4 separate regions of the Homo sapiens genome follow, and all the other regions are linked to region 1. Evidence: promoter capture Hi-C in human tissues and cell types (Jung and others, 2019). All regions are on one chromosome and are shown on one strand. The core of a region is centred on a gene start or on the middle of the fragment in contact, and the rest is flanking DNA. Distances in the headings are between cores, read along the strand shown.

Region 1 (3,589 bases), core at 579-3,078:
ATCCAGTGTGAGTAGTGGAAGCTGTGGTAACCTGGCCAGCACCCTCTGTAAAGGTGGTGTTCACTAGTAACCGCAATCCAGATCCCATGAAAAAATAAGGGCCCAATGTCACCATGTGTTCTGAGGTTTTAAAAGAAGCTGAAATGATTCTGGATTTTGAAATGTTGGCTTGGCAGGGCGTGGTGGCTTACACCTGTAATCCCAGCACTTTGGGCAGCTTAGGGGGGTGGATCACCTGAGATAACGAGTTCGAGACCAGCCTGGCCAACATGGTGAAACCCAGTCTCTACTAAAAATACAAAAATTAACTGGGTGTGGTGACATGCGCCTGTAATCCCAGCTACTTGGGAGGCTGAGGCAGGAAAATCGCTTGAACCAAGGAGGCAGAAGTTGCAGTGAGCTGAGATCACGCCACTGCACTCCAGCCTGGGCAACAAGAGCAAAACGTGTCAAAAAAAAAAAAAAAAAAAAAAAAAGGTTGGCTCAAATTTTTCATGAACATTGAGTGCAGCAAAAAAAAAACATGCCTGTCCACCAAGCTGTCTGTGGGCCATGTTTGGTTTGAGAATCCTAGTTTATTCTCGGGTCCCTTAAGGCTCTCTTTGATGCTCATTCTGATGACATTACACTAAGATTTACTGATTGAGGGTACGGACACTTCTCCATACACACTTGCCCAGGAACGATCTCCAGTTACCTGTCCTGTCTCCAAGATCTTCTCTCTCTCATCCAATCTTGCCTATGCAGCATTCTATTTTCAGAGTCGTCTTTGCTAATTTGGGGAAGTCACTTATTCAAACAAGAAAGTGGTTGACAAATGTTTAGCAATGAAATCTCCCGCGAGTTACTACTTTTTAATTAGGATTTTCAACCCTAAGAAAGATATAGATAGGAGGAATAAGATAGGGGGAATAAGGAAACTAATTTTGAGGGGTTTCCCTGCCTCTTAGGTGGGGTTTATCATATTGTGCTGAAACTGCTTATTCGTCTAGTTCTCCAGACCCTGGGCCATTTATCTTACGTATCCCTATCTCTGAGCGTGTAGAAGGCGCTCCATAAAACTGTTGGTTTGTGTAAATGACCGAAAACTACATGCAGCGTGAGGGTGGATTTCCCTTTGACTTCGGCTTAAGGAAGAATCGTTCCCATGATCATCCCACAATTCATCTAAACGGAGATAGGCAAGGAGCAACTGCTCAAAGGCAAAGCGCTGGCAGCTGAGGCACAGCTCCGGTTCGGCAAACGTCTCCCGAGTGCCAAACGTCCCCCCAAACGCCTAACTGGTCGTCAGGGCGCAGAAAAGAAGCTTGGGGGGCGCGGTCTTCGCCCCAGCTCCACTTCGGTGCTTCACGATTCCTTCTCTGGCCTGCCTTCCTGATAAATACCCGGTGAGGTCACCTAAACGCTCTCCTCTCTCAGTTATTTGCTTCTTTCCAACGTTTGGCGCCCAGCTCCCGCCATCGGAGCGCCCCGCCCGAGACCACTGATCTCCTGGGGCCTCGCAGCCTTGCTTCCGAACGCCAAGGTCGCGGTGCGCCGGGGTAGCGAACGGCCAGGCCCGAAACCCCGCCCCGCAGCTAAACGCCCGGCCCGCTACCCTGCGCCCAGCTCCAGCCGCCGGGTCCCGCCTGGGCCTCTCCTCCTGGGAATACCGGGCACCGGTGGCCCCGCCCCTACCTGCGCGCCGCATCTCCGGGAACAACAGTCTCCCTCCCGAGCATCACAGCCAGACATGGCCCAGACCAGGGACCCGCGCGGCCTCCAATCTCCGCACGGCTTTGCGCGCGGCGCTTAGCCTGGGATACGGCAGCGAGGCCGCAAATGCAATCAGGCGGCGCTGAGGGCAGCCCGGGGGCGGGGCGAACGGGGCGGGGGCCGGGGTCTGGTAAGGCCCCGCCGGCTGAGATATCCAGCGGCGCACCTGACTTCCCGGGAGGCAAGGCCAACGTGGTTGGAGGCGGGGCTGGGTTGGGGGGCGGGGGTTCAAGTCTGAGAGACCTAAAGGCACCGCTAGCGTCTGGGGGCGTGGCCAACCATGCGGGAGGCGGGGCCTTGATGCTGGACATCAGGCTGTGCTGCGGGCAGCCAGTGAGAAGGCCGTCAAGATGGCGGCCTCCTGGAGGCTGGGCTGTGATCCGCGGCTGCTGCGTTATCTTGTGGGCTTCCCCGGCCGCCGAAGCGTAGGGCTGGTGAAGGGGGCTCTTGGGTGGTCTGTAAGCCGCGGAGCTAATTGGAGATGGTTTCACAGCACGCAGTGGCTTCGGGGTGAGTGGCCGGGGCTCGCTCAGCTTCTCTGTGTAGCTGAGTGATGGGCCTGGGACAGGGGCAGTTATGATTGAGGGCCTGCTTTTGGGTGTGAAGGTGCGCGGGCTCCTTATTCCCTTTCCTCTTTCTCCGGTTGGGGTCCGCCGACTTGGCCTAATGCATGCTGTGAAGGGCTTTCTTGGCAGCTGAGAGAACTCGACTCTGCCCTAGGCCCCCTGGTTTGTATGGCTTTGTGACCTTGCCTTGGAATTTGGGTTATTTGTGAGGCGCAGAGAGGGTTCCCAAACTCTCCTCCCTCAGCCCCCTTTCCAATCAAGGCTCAGGTTTCTTTAGGGTTGTCAAACGTCTCGGACGAGAAAAAGCTGCCCAAGGTTGCCGAGATTGAAAAGCCACTGTTGGGAGTTCTTACTTATTCTCTAGGCCTCTCTCTGTTAGGAGGTGTTTTCATTGAGGCCAGTCGAGTTTTACCCCACGCCATGACTCGTGGAAGACTTAAATTTGTAAATTCCTACGGCATCACGATAGACAAAGGTCCAGGAGAATGTTTCAAGCAAATATTCGCTTGAAAGAGCAAACATTTAGGAGATAAATCATACCAAAAATTTATTATAGAAAATTGTTGTTTAGTAATGATATTGATGCAGTTAACACAATTCTTGCAGTATTTAACAGTATGCAAAATGGCAGGCCGGGTATTATTTTTCCTTATTTTGGGAGAAGGTTGGAGGGAGGCGGGGATGGAGAATAGGACTGACGTTTTTTAGTGTGACGTATTACCTGCCAATCATCGTTCCTGGCACTCTACAGAATGAATTTTAATTTAAATAGGTCTAGTAGACGTTGCCTTCATATTCTGAGCTACCTTAGGCTCAGAAAAAAAAAATCACACAAAGTCATATGGTAAGATGAGTGTATTGGGGTTCCTAAAGGTTCCTTAATGGGAACAATTTATTTCATTTTTGGTGTAATGTTTCATAACATATTCCTTGGAGCAGAGGTGCTTTAACAGTGTGTGCAGAATTCCTTCTCTTCCCTCCTCCAAGTTTGTTGAAATTAAACTTTTTTCCAGCTCCTAGAGATTCGGTCTGGTCTGGTGTGGGGCTCAGGAATCTGCATTTTACAAATGTTGGATGAGTTTTGATGTTTTATTTTGACATTTAATGGAATGAGCTTTGAGACTCACTGCCTTAGAAAATCATGGAATATTAAAAGTTTAGTATTGGATATAATCTAGGAAGAGTGCTCTTAATCTTGTTTATCAAGCAGATCCTTTTGAGAATCTTTGAAAATGTTACAGACTCTCTGTACAGAGGAAGTACCATAA
Region 2 (3,589 bases), core at 305-2,804, 870 kb before region 1:
GACAGGGTCTTGCTTTGTCACCCTGGCTGGAGTGCAGTGGCACGAACATGGCTCACTGCAGCCTTAACCTCCCAGGCTCAAGAGATCCTCTCTCCTCAGCCCCCCAAGAAGCTGAGACTACAGGCACGTGCCACCATGCCCAGGTAATTTTTGTAGTTTTTGTAGAGATGGGGTTTCGCCATGTTGCCCAAGCTGGTCTTTAACTCCTGAGCTCAGGCCATCTGCCCGCATTGGCCTCTCAAAGTGCTGGGATTACAGGCATAAGCCAATGTGCCTGGCCCATTTCAGTTTTTAAATTTTAGCCATTTTGGTGACTATGTAGTAGTATCTCACTGAAGTATATCACATTAAATTGTATCTCTTTATATATTTGACTACCCTTCTTAATACTAATTTTCTGGAGGCCATAGGATTATGTCTTATTCAACATGTGAATAAACACAGACAGTGCCTGGCATGCACAAGGTGCTAAGTTCTTGTTGCAGAAGTAATGAGGGGCTGAGAAGTCTTCCAAATGCTAAAATCAAACATTTCCGGTACATAAAAATCGACCTTGCCTAAGTTTAATCATCATCAAATCCCAGTCAACAGACATGCCTGAGTGTCCACTCACTGCCAGTATTAGTCTTCTGATACTTTCTTCCCAAGGCCTCATCAGCTGAGTGCTTCATAGCATTGCCTGGCAATGTAGACACTAGAGCTGTGACAGTCCTAATCATAAAGGTAAAAGAACCCTTGAAATATGATTCCATTTCCCCCACTTTCTTCCAAAATCATATGTAAATCCCACAAAGAGTGGAATAATCTAATCCTTGTTTAAAGACAACCAGTTATGCAAATAGAGCCCCAATAAGGTACTGCTTCTCACTGAGACACATTCACTAGCACAGCGATAATCAAAAACATGGCTAAGGGCGGGGCGCGGTGGCTCACACCTGTAATCCCAGCACTTTGGGAGGCCAAGGTGGGCAGATCACCTGAGGTCGGGAGTTCAAGACCAGCCTGGCCAACATGTTGAAACCCTGTCTCTACAAAAAATGCAAAAATTAGCTGGGCATGATGGCAGGTGCCTGTAATCCCAGCTACTTGGGAGCCTGGGGCGGAAGAATAGCTTGAACCTGGGAGGTGGAGGTTGCAGTGAGCTGAGATTGTGCCATTGCACTCCAGCCTGGGCGATAGAGCGAGACTCTGTCTCAAAAAAACAAAAACAACAAACAAACAAACAAACATGGCTAATAACAAGTGTTTGATGAGGATGTAAAGAAATTGAAACCTCATACAAAGCTGAATATGGTGCAGCCACTTTGGAGAACACTTAGGCAGTTGCTCAAAATATTACATGTAGGCCAGGCACAGTGGCTCATGCCTGTAATCCCAGCACTTTGGGAGGCTGAAGAGGGCGGATCACGAGGTCAGGAGATTGAGGCCAGTGTGGTCAACATGATGAAACCCCATCTCTACTAAAAATACAAAAAAAATTAGCCGGGCGTTGTGGTGCGCACCTACAGGCCCAGCTACTTTGGAGCTTGAGGCAGGAGAATCGCTTGAACTCGGGAGGTGGAGGCTGCAGTGAACCGAGATCACACCACTGCACTCCAGCCTGGGCAACAGAGCGAGACTCCATCCCAAAACAAAAACAAAAACAAAAACATTACACATAAAGTTACCATATAACCTAGCAATCTACTGTAGGTGTATACCTAGTGAATTGAAAACATGTGTTCATACAAAAAACTTGTACATGAATGTTGCATTAGTCTGTTCTCTCATTGCTATAGAGAACTACCTGAGGCCAGGTGCAGTGGCTTACACCTGTAACCCCAACACTTTGGGAGGCCAAGGCAGGTGGATCATGAGGTCAAGAGATCAAGACCATCCTGGCCAACATGGTGAAACCCCGTGTCTACTAAAAATACAAAAAAAAATCAGCCAGGCATGGTGGCGCGTGCCTGTAGTCCCAGCTACTTGGGAGGCTGAGGCAGGAGAATCACTTGAACCCAGGAGGCAGAGGTTGCAGTGAGCCGAGATCGCGTCACTGCATTACAGGCTGGTGATAGAGTGAGACTCCGTTGAAAAAAAAAAAACTACCTGAGACTGGGTAATTTATAAAGAAAAGAGGTTTAATTGGCTTACTGTTCCACAGGCTGGGGGAGGCCTCAGGAAACTTATCATCATGGCAGACGGCAAAGGGGAAGCAGGCACAATCTTCACATGGTGCAGCAGGAGAGACAGAGTGAGGGTGGAAGTGCTACACACTTTTAAACAACCAGATCTCGTGAAACTCACTATCACAGCAACAGCAAGAGGGAAGTCTGCCCTTATGATCCAATCACCTCCCACCCACTAGGCCCCTTCTCCAACATTGGGGATCACAATTTGACATGAGATTTGGGTGGGGACACAAATCCAAACCATATCAAATATTCACAACAGCATTATTCACAACAACCAAGAAGTGGAAGACACCCCAAGTGTCTATCAATGGATGAATAGACAAACAAACTCTAGTATACCTATTCAATGGAATATTATTCAGCCATAAAAAGGAATGAAATTCATGCCAAAACAAGGATGTATCTTAAAAATACTATGATAAGTGAAATAAGCCAGGCACAAAAGGCCATATATTGTAGGGTTCCAGCTATCTAAAATGTCCAGAATAGGCAATTTCATAGAGAAAGTAGATTAGCAGTAGCCAGGGGCTAGGAGGAGGGGTAAATGGGGAATGACTGCTAATGAGGTACATGTTACTTCCTGGGGTGATAAAAATGTCCTAAAATTAGGTAATGGCAATGGTTGCATTACTCTCAAATATCAAATATACTAAAAACCAGTTAATTGTACACTTTAAATGGGTTAATTTTATGATAGGTAAATTAGAGCCCAATAAAAGTTATACAACACACTGAGCTGTTGTTTTAGTTTTGCATAATTTACTTATCTAAATTATTTGCAATAAACTTGTATTACTCTTGCAATTTTTTAAAAATGAAGGTTTAAAAATATTTAATTATAATTTATACTTTTTTTCTGTGAAAAGGCTGCATAAACGCATTCCTTGTCACACCATCATTTCTTTTTCTCACATCAAATCAGCCCTAGCTATCCTAAAGAACTGTCTTCTTTCCGCTTTAGGTGGATGTTAGCACAGCATTCACGAGGAGAAACACCACCAGCTCTAGCTCCAAAGAACGCCAAGGAATATGATCTTGCAATACTATAGGGCTGCCAGATCTGCATTTGGTTTAGACAAGGAGGGCCCAGAGAAAAGGTTGCTGCCTTCTTTCATTGTCCTCTGTAGGCAAAGTCTAAATGGGGTATGACTAGGATGTCCAATATCTCCTTCTATTTTTTCTCTTCTGCCCTCTTTTTGGTTTTTTTTTTTTGGGAGACGAAGTCTCACTCTTGTCCCCCAGGCTGGAGTGTGATGGCGTGATCTTGGCTTACTGCAACCTTGGCCTCCCGGGTTCAAACCGTTCTCCTGCCTCAGCCTCCCGAGTAGCTGGGATTACAGGCGCCTGCCACCACGCCTGGCTAATTTTTGTATTTTTGGTAGAGACAGGGTTTCATCATATTGGCCAGGCTGGTC
Region 3 (3,589 bases), core at 430-2,929, 570 kb before region 1:
AATACCCATCTCCCTGAGATTTGGGTCGTGACCCTCCTTGCACCAGAGACTTTGGCAAAAATGAACACAATCAGTGGATCCAACACAAGTTTGTTAAAAACAATTAGAATATCTTATGTGTCAGGCATAACACAAAGTCCCTCACAGGGACTCTTATGAAATTCTCACAACCATCCTATGAGTTGGGTACTATTTTCAGTCCTATCTTATAGAGCTGTGTTTCACAGCCAAGGGTGAATTTGCTCCCCAGGGAACATCTGGAAAAGTCTGGAGACATTTTTGATGGTCTCAACTGGTGGTGGCTATGAAGCATCCTACAATGCCCAAGACAACCTCATGACAAAACATTAACCAGTCCAAAATGTCAATGGTGCCCTGTGATCAAGGAAGAAACTAAGGCACGGAAGTGAAACAACTTGCCCAGGGTCACACAGCTCCCAAGTGAAGTTATGAGGAATTACAGCCAGGCAGCCCCACCCCGTGCTGTGCTCTCACCAGTAAGCCTGGCTGCATCTCTCACATCCCAGGGCACTGAGTATGCATAAGGCACAACCGCATGTGTACAAGCCTCTCATTTTACAGTAGAGGAAATAGAAACATAGTGTGACTTGCTTGAAGGCCTAGGTCAGTAAGAGGCAAATCAATCTGGGACTCAATTCAGACTCCAAAGTCTGGGCCCTTCACTGCTTTGCTACATCGCTGACTCATTCTCTCCCTGTGCTCTAAACACCGAGATGGAGTCAGCAGCCGGACACCATGGGGGACTCGGAGGAAATCAAAGCCCCCTTCATACAGGCTCTTCTGCCAACTCCAGGACAGGTGCACCAAGCTCCCCAAGACCAGTGACCTAGACTCAAATCCCTCTTGGTGCCTTCTCTCCTTCATGTATTAGCCTTTGCTGAGCTGACCCGCCCATCCTTTAGAAGAGCATCGCAGTGTACTCTGCGGCTTCTCTATTCAGCTGAGCTTATTGGTCACCAGCAGGTGACACTTATAAAGGCCCTCCCTGGGCAGCAGAGCTCTCTGTGCCCTCTTCTTCCATCCCCAGGAGCAGCAATAATGGCTCTTTAAAATCAGTGGCACCTCTAGGGTGGGGAGAGCCAGCAAGCAGCATTTAAACAGAGTAACAGCAACCTTTGGAGGAAGATACACCCCTGGGTGTCAGTGCCTGCTCTTTCACTGTGGTCGTGAACACTCACTGGCCTAACAAATGTAAAGTGTCTGGACACCATAGGCCATTAACAAACAAGACCTATAACAAGTGTTGTTCTTGCTATGAGTTTGACCCTAGCTGCCATCTGAATGGGGCCAAGTACTGACCTGTATTTGCTACCTTGGATTCTGTAATTCTTTATAGGAAAAGCACAGGCCTGGGGCTTGAGCAAAATGGGACTTAGTCATTATTGAGCTTAGTTATTATTGAGCTGTGAATTCTGGACTCATGGAGACCTCTCAGTGAAAGGACACACATTCACAGGATTCTCATGGGGACCTAGAAAGCTCACAGATGAGAATAAGCTTGAGGTGTTGTGGAAAAGTCAGACCTATTACTACAGCTGCATAAGAGTAGAAATAGAGGCGAAGCATCTACCCACTGACCTGTCGGACAAAGGATGAATACTGATGGTGAGGTGGGATAAGGACAAAGCTGAGGATGTGCAACCAAGTGTCTCTGGTTTGTTTCAGAACTTCCCATTCTTGGGATGCCAACCCAGGAATGTCTTGGCAATTGATTACCTTGGTTCAGTCCTCAGACTGGAGGCAGATGGAGTGGGACACAGATGTAAACTCTTCTGAGCAATAGTCATCAACATAAATTGTCCTCTGGGGCAGCTCTGTTGGCAAGGGGGCGGTTGGTATTTCCATTCTTAAGGAAACCTTCAACTCAATCCTCCTGTTGACTTTTCTGTGGCCTGCTGTACCAGACGTCTGTTGTGAAGCCCTTCCTCTTGGGTATTGTACACTGAAGACATTCTCCTAAACTGAAAATTCCCCCAACTCACATCTTGCACATCAAAGCCAGACTTGGGAACCCTGCTAGAAAGCAGGGTACCCAAAGGTTGGATGTAGCCCCAAAATGCTGACTCTATTCATTGAGAACAACTTGGAAATTTTCTGCCTTGGTAGAAATGGGGACGGTTCTGATATATCAAAGGAATTCAAATACAAATTTTAAACCTGTATGGCGGGATCTATCATTTGCCCATCATTTATAGAGCACATATTGTAGACACCATGAGAGGTACAGGGAAGACAGCAATGCCTATGAAGTGCACAGTTTTATGGGAGAGACACACACAAGCAGGAAATGATTTAAGAATATGTCCTGGGTGCTGAGGAAACATCACAAAGGGGTGGCTCTTCCAGCTGGGGGAGTCAGGTAGAGCTTTCAGTAGGAGGAAGTGGAACAACTCTACCTTGTTCCTCTTACTACTTAAGGCTAGGGTTGCCTTTCTCAGGCGTGCGAGAAAAAAAAATTTTTCATTTCCAAAGCTTGCTCTGTTTCAGTTTTACCAACTCTCTTGGCTTTAATAAAATGGTTAAAGAGATAGGAAGCAGCCCTCATCCTTCAGACTACCCAGGTGTGGAAACTGATTAAACACCACCTGACAAGCTCAATCAACCCTTGCTGCTTCAGTTGCTTCTCTCAGTAGAAATTCATCCTACAATCTCATCACTAAATAAATCCCACAACCAGAAGAGGTTTCGTCCCTGCTCTACATGCAGCCCTTTTCTTTCTCAGCTCTAAGTGAGATGTTGAGACTTCTCTCAGCTGGTGAATAACTGAATCATTCAGAAAAGTCCTCAGTCACTATTTTTGGCCTAAAGGTCCTTAGTAGTATTGATATTACTGGCTATTACTAATAAACCTTCAGAGAAGCATTCCTTGACTGTCATTTAAATTAGCCCCGTCACACCATCCCATTACCCTGCCCTTTAAAAAAAATATTTTAAACAACACTCATTACCAAGAGAAAATCCTTGCTTATTTACTTTTTCTCATTTCCTCCACTGGATTATAAACTTCATGAGAGGAGGGCTTTTCCCCTTGTTCATCACTTAGTCCACAGCACTTTTAACAGTGGTGGGTACAGGGTCAGTGCTCAATAATTGTTGAATGAATTTACTATTTATTGAGCATTTACTATGTGCTAAGATCTTTCAATCTATAGTCTCATTTAATTCTCATACCACCCATATAAGCTAGGTGCTCTTACTATGTCCCATTTTGCAGATGACAAAATTGAAGGTTAGAATGGTTAAGAAAATTGCACCAGGCCACTCATGTAAATGGCAAAGTTGTGTATGGCCAGGCATGATGGGTCATGCCTGTAATCCCAGCACTCTGGGAGGCTGAAGCGGGAGAATCCCTTGAGCCCAGGAGTTTAAGGCCAGCCTGGGCAACATAGCAAGACCCTGTCTCTACAAAAATAAAATTTTAAAAATTAGCTGGGTGTGGTGGCATATGCCTGCAGTCCCAGCCACTTGGGAGGCTGAGGCAGGAGGAACCCTTAGAACCCAGGAGTTCAAGGTTGCAGTGAACTACGATTTTACCACTGCACTCCAGCCTGGGTGATACAGCAAGACT
Region 4 (3,589 bases), core at 647-3,146, 540 kb before region 1:
ATTCCAGGACCCTTAAGAGTTATGCTAACTCTACACTGCCTGTGCTCTAAAAATGGAACAACAAAACTGGATGATAGTACATCTGTTTACAGCATGGTTTACTGAATATTTTAATCCTACTGTTGAGACCTACTTATCACAATAAAATATTTCTTTCAAAATATTACTGCTCATTGACAATGTGCTTAGTCACCCAAGATCTCTCTCTGATGGAGATAGATAAGAAAACTAAAATTGGTTTTTTTTTTTTTTTTTTAGATGGAGTTTTGCTCTTGTTGCCCAGGCTGGAGTGCAATGGTGCAATCTCGGCTCACTGCAACCTCTGCCTCCTGGGTTCAAGTGATTCTCCTGCCTCAGCATCCTGAATAGCTGGGATTACAGTCATGCACCACCATGCCTCACTCATTTCATATTTTTACTAGAGATGGGGTTTCTCCATGTTGATCAGGCTGGTCTCGAACTCCCGACCTCAGGTGATCCACCCACGTTGGCCTCCCAAACTTCTGGGATTACAGGCATGAGCCACTATGCCCAGCCTTAAAGTTGATTTTTGCCTGCTAACACAACATCTATTTTGCAGCCCGTGGATCAAGGAGATGATCATTAGCCTTTTTTTTAGCAATGAGGTATTTTTAAATTAGGATATGTACATTGTTTTTTGGAAATAATGCTGTTGCACACTTTATAGACTACAGTATAATATCAACATATTTTATATGCACTGGGAAGCCAACAAATTTGTGTGACTCACTTTACTGCATATTTACTTTATTGCAGTGGTCTGAAACCCAAACCACAATATCTTTAAGATATGACCCTATTGGTGTCTGTGCATTTGAAGAAACAGTCACCTCTTTCAAACTTTACAGACTGTCTTTGGTAGGGAAAGACCTTTATCTGTGGCTGGCATGAGGAAGTAGCTTGATGGGCTCTGGGTGACTCTGGCAGCTGGGGTTACTCTTGGCAAAGACTGCAGGGCCTTAGCACAATGACTGCTGGGGTCCTCGATGGTGAAGCCTGCCAAGTCCTTTTGCTCTCTTTTTTTCCCAACTGGGGGACTCACAGCAGAAGAAATTCTTCTTCACTGGGCTCTGCTTGTCTGGGGAATGAGGTGAATGCAGGCAAAACGCTTCCTACCGTATTCTATGTGGGTGTTCTCAGTTCTTTTAGATTGCTGCATCTTCTTAATTGTACTCCAGAGCTTTCCTGGGGCTATATTTGTCTATGGAGCTTATGAAATTTTTTTTTTTTTTTTTTTTTTTTTTTTTTTTTTGTGGCAGGACAAGGGCTATGACCTCCTAGATTACTACACTGCTAATGTCACTTAGAACATGCACCTTTGATCAAGTTTAATCTTTAGCAGGTAGGACTGAAACCCAAAGCCACAAAAAGCAACTGAGCTGGGAGATATCTATTACAGCCATTGCCTCTAAATCTGACTATGAGAAAAGCATTTCAAATATCACATGACTTAACTTATTGGAATTTGTGGTAAAGAAATAAGAATGAGCACAAATATTTAGCAACAAAATCAATTGCAGTATTGTTAGTAATTATAAAAAGATATAAACATGTAACTGTCTAACAATGGCAGATTGTTAAAAATAAGTAAATATCCATATAGTGGAATAATATGGAGCCATTTAAAGTGATGCAGAAATATATCTTTTGTCTTGAAATATGTTTATGATAATTAGGTGAAAAAAGCAAATCACAGAAATGTTTTTTGTTTGTTTGTTTTTGAGACGGAGTCTCGCTCTGTCACCCAGGCTCACTGCAACCTCCACCTCCCGAATTCAAATGATTCTCTTGGCTCAGCCTCCCAAGTAGCAGGGAATACAGGCATGCACCACCACATCCAGCTAATTTTTGTATTTTTAGTTGAGATGGGGTTTCACCATGTTGGCTGGCTGGTTTCGAACTCCTGACCTCAAGTGATCTGCCTGCCTCAGCCTCCCAAATTGCTGAGATTACAGGTATGAGCCACTGCTCCCAGCCAACATGTGTGTTTTGATCTAACTTTTGTTTTAAAAAAGTAGAAAACAACTTAATATATGAAAGTGCTAATGGTGACAAGACAGATGGGATTACAGTTTAAAAGTAGCGTTTTTTTCCTGTTTGTCTACATTTTCTGATCTTTCTGAAATGAGCATGTATTGCTTTGTTATAAAAAAATAATAAATTTTGAAAATGAAAGTATAGAGCTTGGACCTATTATGTATTATGGAAATAAATGAATGAACTGCATAGCAATTTCTGCTATCATGACATGGGATAAAAATGTTTTAAAAGCATATTTCCCATTGCATTGTGATTTATCTTTTTACCTATCTGCCTCCCTTTAGCTGAAGATCCTCTAGGTCAAAGACTATTATTATTCATCTTTGCTTCCCTAGCATGTAGTTCACAAATTCAGCTGGTGATGAGTAAATGTTGAGTAATTGAGTAAGCAGCACATAAAAGTGTGTCAGAAGACTTAGATATTAGTCAGGGTATGTGTTGACAATCACATCGTCCATCTGATGTGTTGACAATCCCACCATAAAATACATCATGGTAAAAATCCAGTCCACCAGAGGAAGTCCTCGAGATGCAGCTAAGATGAAAGGTCAGGGGCCAAGGGCTGAGGGTAAATAATACATAGAAATCACAGATTTGTGTGTTGTGGGTGCTATATCAAAGACACCATCAAGTTTGGGGATCTTAGTAAGGATTGTAGGAAAACTGTAAATGAAACAGAAATAATAGTATTTTCAAGAGGGGTAAGGAAATGAATGGATACTTGGATGCATTTTTTTTTTCTGGAGATCAATTGAAGCACACTCATCAAAGCCTTAAAAATACGCATGATTTTTGACCTAGCAATTTTATTTCTGAGAATTTATCCTATGGAAATATTATGGACATGCACTAGAAATTAGCTCTAAAGATGTTCATCACAGTGCTATCTGTAATAACAAAAACAAACAAACAAACAAAAAACAACCAAACAAAAACAGAAATAATGCCAATATTCAACAGCAGAAAATTGGCAAGGTAAAGTATGAAATACTCATTTAACAGAATACTTTGTGATAACTAAAAAGACACTGTAGAAATATATTTCTAGATGTGGAAGATGTCCATAATATATTGTCAAATTTTAAAAAGATGTGTTACAGAACACTATTGCAAAAATAAAAATACATAGATGGGTGAAATATGATATGTTAGTAGTGGTTTTCCCTTGAGGAAAGGGATTGTGGATTTTTTTTTCTTGAAAAAGTTTATTTTGCTTCCCTGTCCTTTCTGAGTTCTTTGTAGTGAAACTATGTTGTTCTTATATAAGAAAAAGAAGAAAAGGAAGACTTTACCAAAAACATATAAATATGAAAGCATAATACTAATGGGATCACAGGAGAAAGGCCTTATTTTTTGCAGCCAGCTCTTATATAGTACCTACTATGCACCATGCATATTTATTTACATTTATTAACTTGTTTTTCTCATCACAACCCTATGATCTTTTCCACTGATGAGGCAACCAAAGCACAGTGATGGTCAGTAACTTGATAAGGTCATAGAGCTAGTAGAGCCAGGATTTGGAGCC

Evidence for each region. The method cuts DNA at HindIII sites, captures the fragments that hold promoters and counts their contacts. A contact is called where the count stands out against the background at its distance.
Region 2: a contact is called between a fragment that was not itself captured here and the fragment with the promoter of APIP in region 1, in 1 of the 25 tissues and cell types used here (spleen).
Region 3: a fragment that was not itself captured here is called in contact with the fragment with the promoter of APIP in region 1 in 1 of the 25 tissues and cell types used here (dorsolateral prefrontal cortex).
Region 4: a contact is called between a fragment that was not itself captured here and the fragment with the promoter of APIP in region 1, in 1 of the 25 tissues and cell types used here (spleen).

Annotation. Positions count from the first base shown.
Region 1 is chr11:34,914,551-34,918,139 of GRCh38, forward strand. APIP (APAF1 interacting protein) reads right to left here and starts at 1,829. Exons shown (of 7, transcript NM_015957.4): 1 at 1,678-1,829. The coding sequence starts at 1,734. PDHX (pyruvate dehydrogenase complex component X) reads left to right here and starts at 2,068. Exons shown (of 11, transcript NM_003477.3): 1 at 2,068-2,265. The coding sequence starts at 2,106. RefSeq lists silencers at 1,490-1,829, 1,850-1,899 and an enhancer at 2,070-2,369. The HindIII fragment of the contact is 5,804 bases long and covers 209-3,589 here.
Region 2 is chr11:34,040,855-34,044,443 of GRCh38, forward strand. No RefSeq gene overlaps it. Among named protein-coding and RNA genes, the nearest start is that of CAPRIN1, 9.1 kb to the right of the region's middle. The HindIII fragment of the contact is 8,987 bases long and covers 1-3,589 here.
Region 3 is chr11:34,349,466-34,353,054 of GRCh38, forward strand. The region is part of intron 1 of ABTB2 (ankyrin repeat and BTB domain containing 2); the gene reads right to left. Among named protein-coding and RNA genes, the nearest start is that of ABTB2, 6.8 kb to the right of the region's middle. RefSeq lists an enhancer at 2,681-2,730. The HindIII fragment of the contact is 5,708 bases long and covers 1-3,589 here.
Region 4 is chr11:34,378,407-34,381,995 of GRCh38, forward strand. No RefSeq gene overlaps it. Among named protein-coding and RNA genes, the nearest start is that of ABTB2, 22 kb to the left of the region's middle. The HindIII fragment of the contact is 4,751 bases long and covers 1-3,589 here.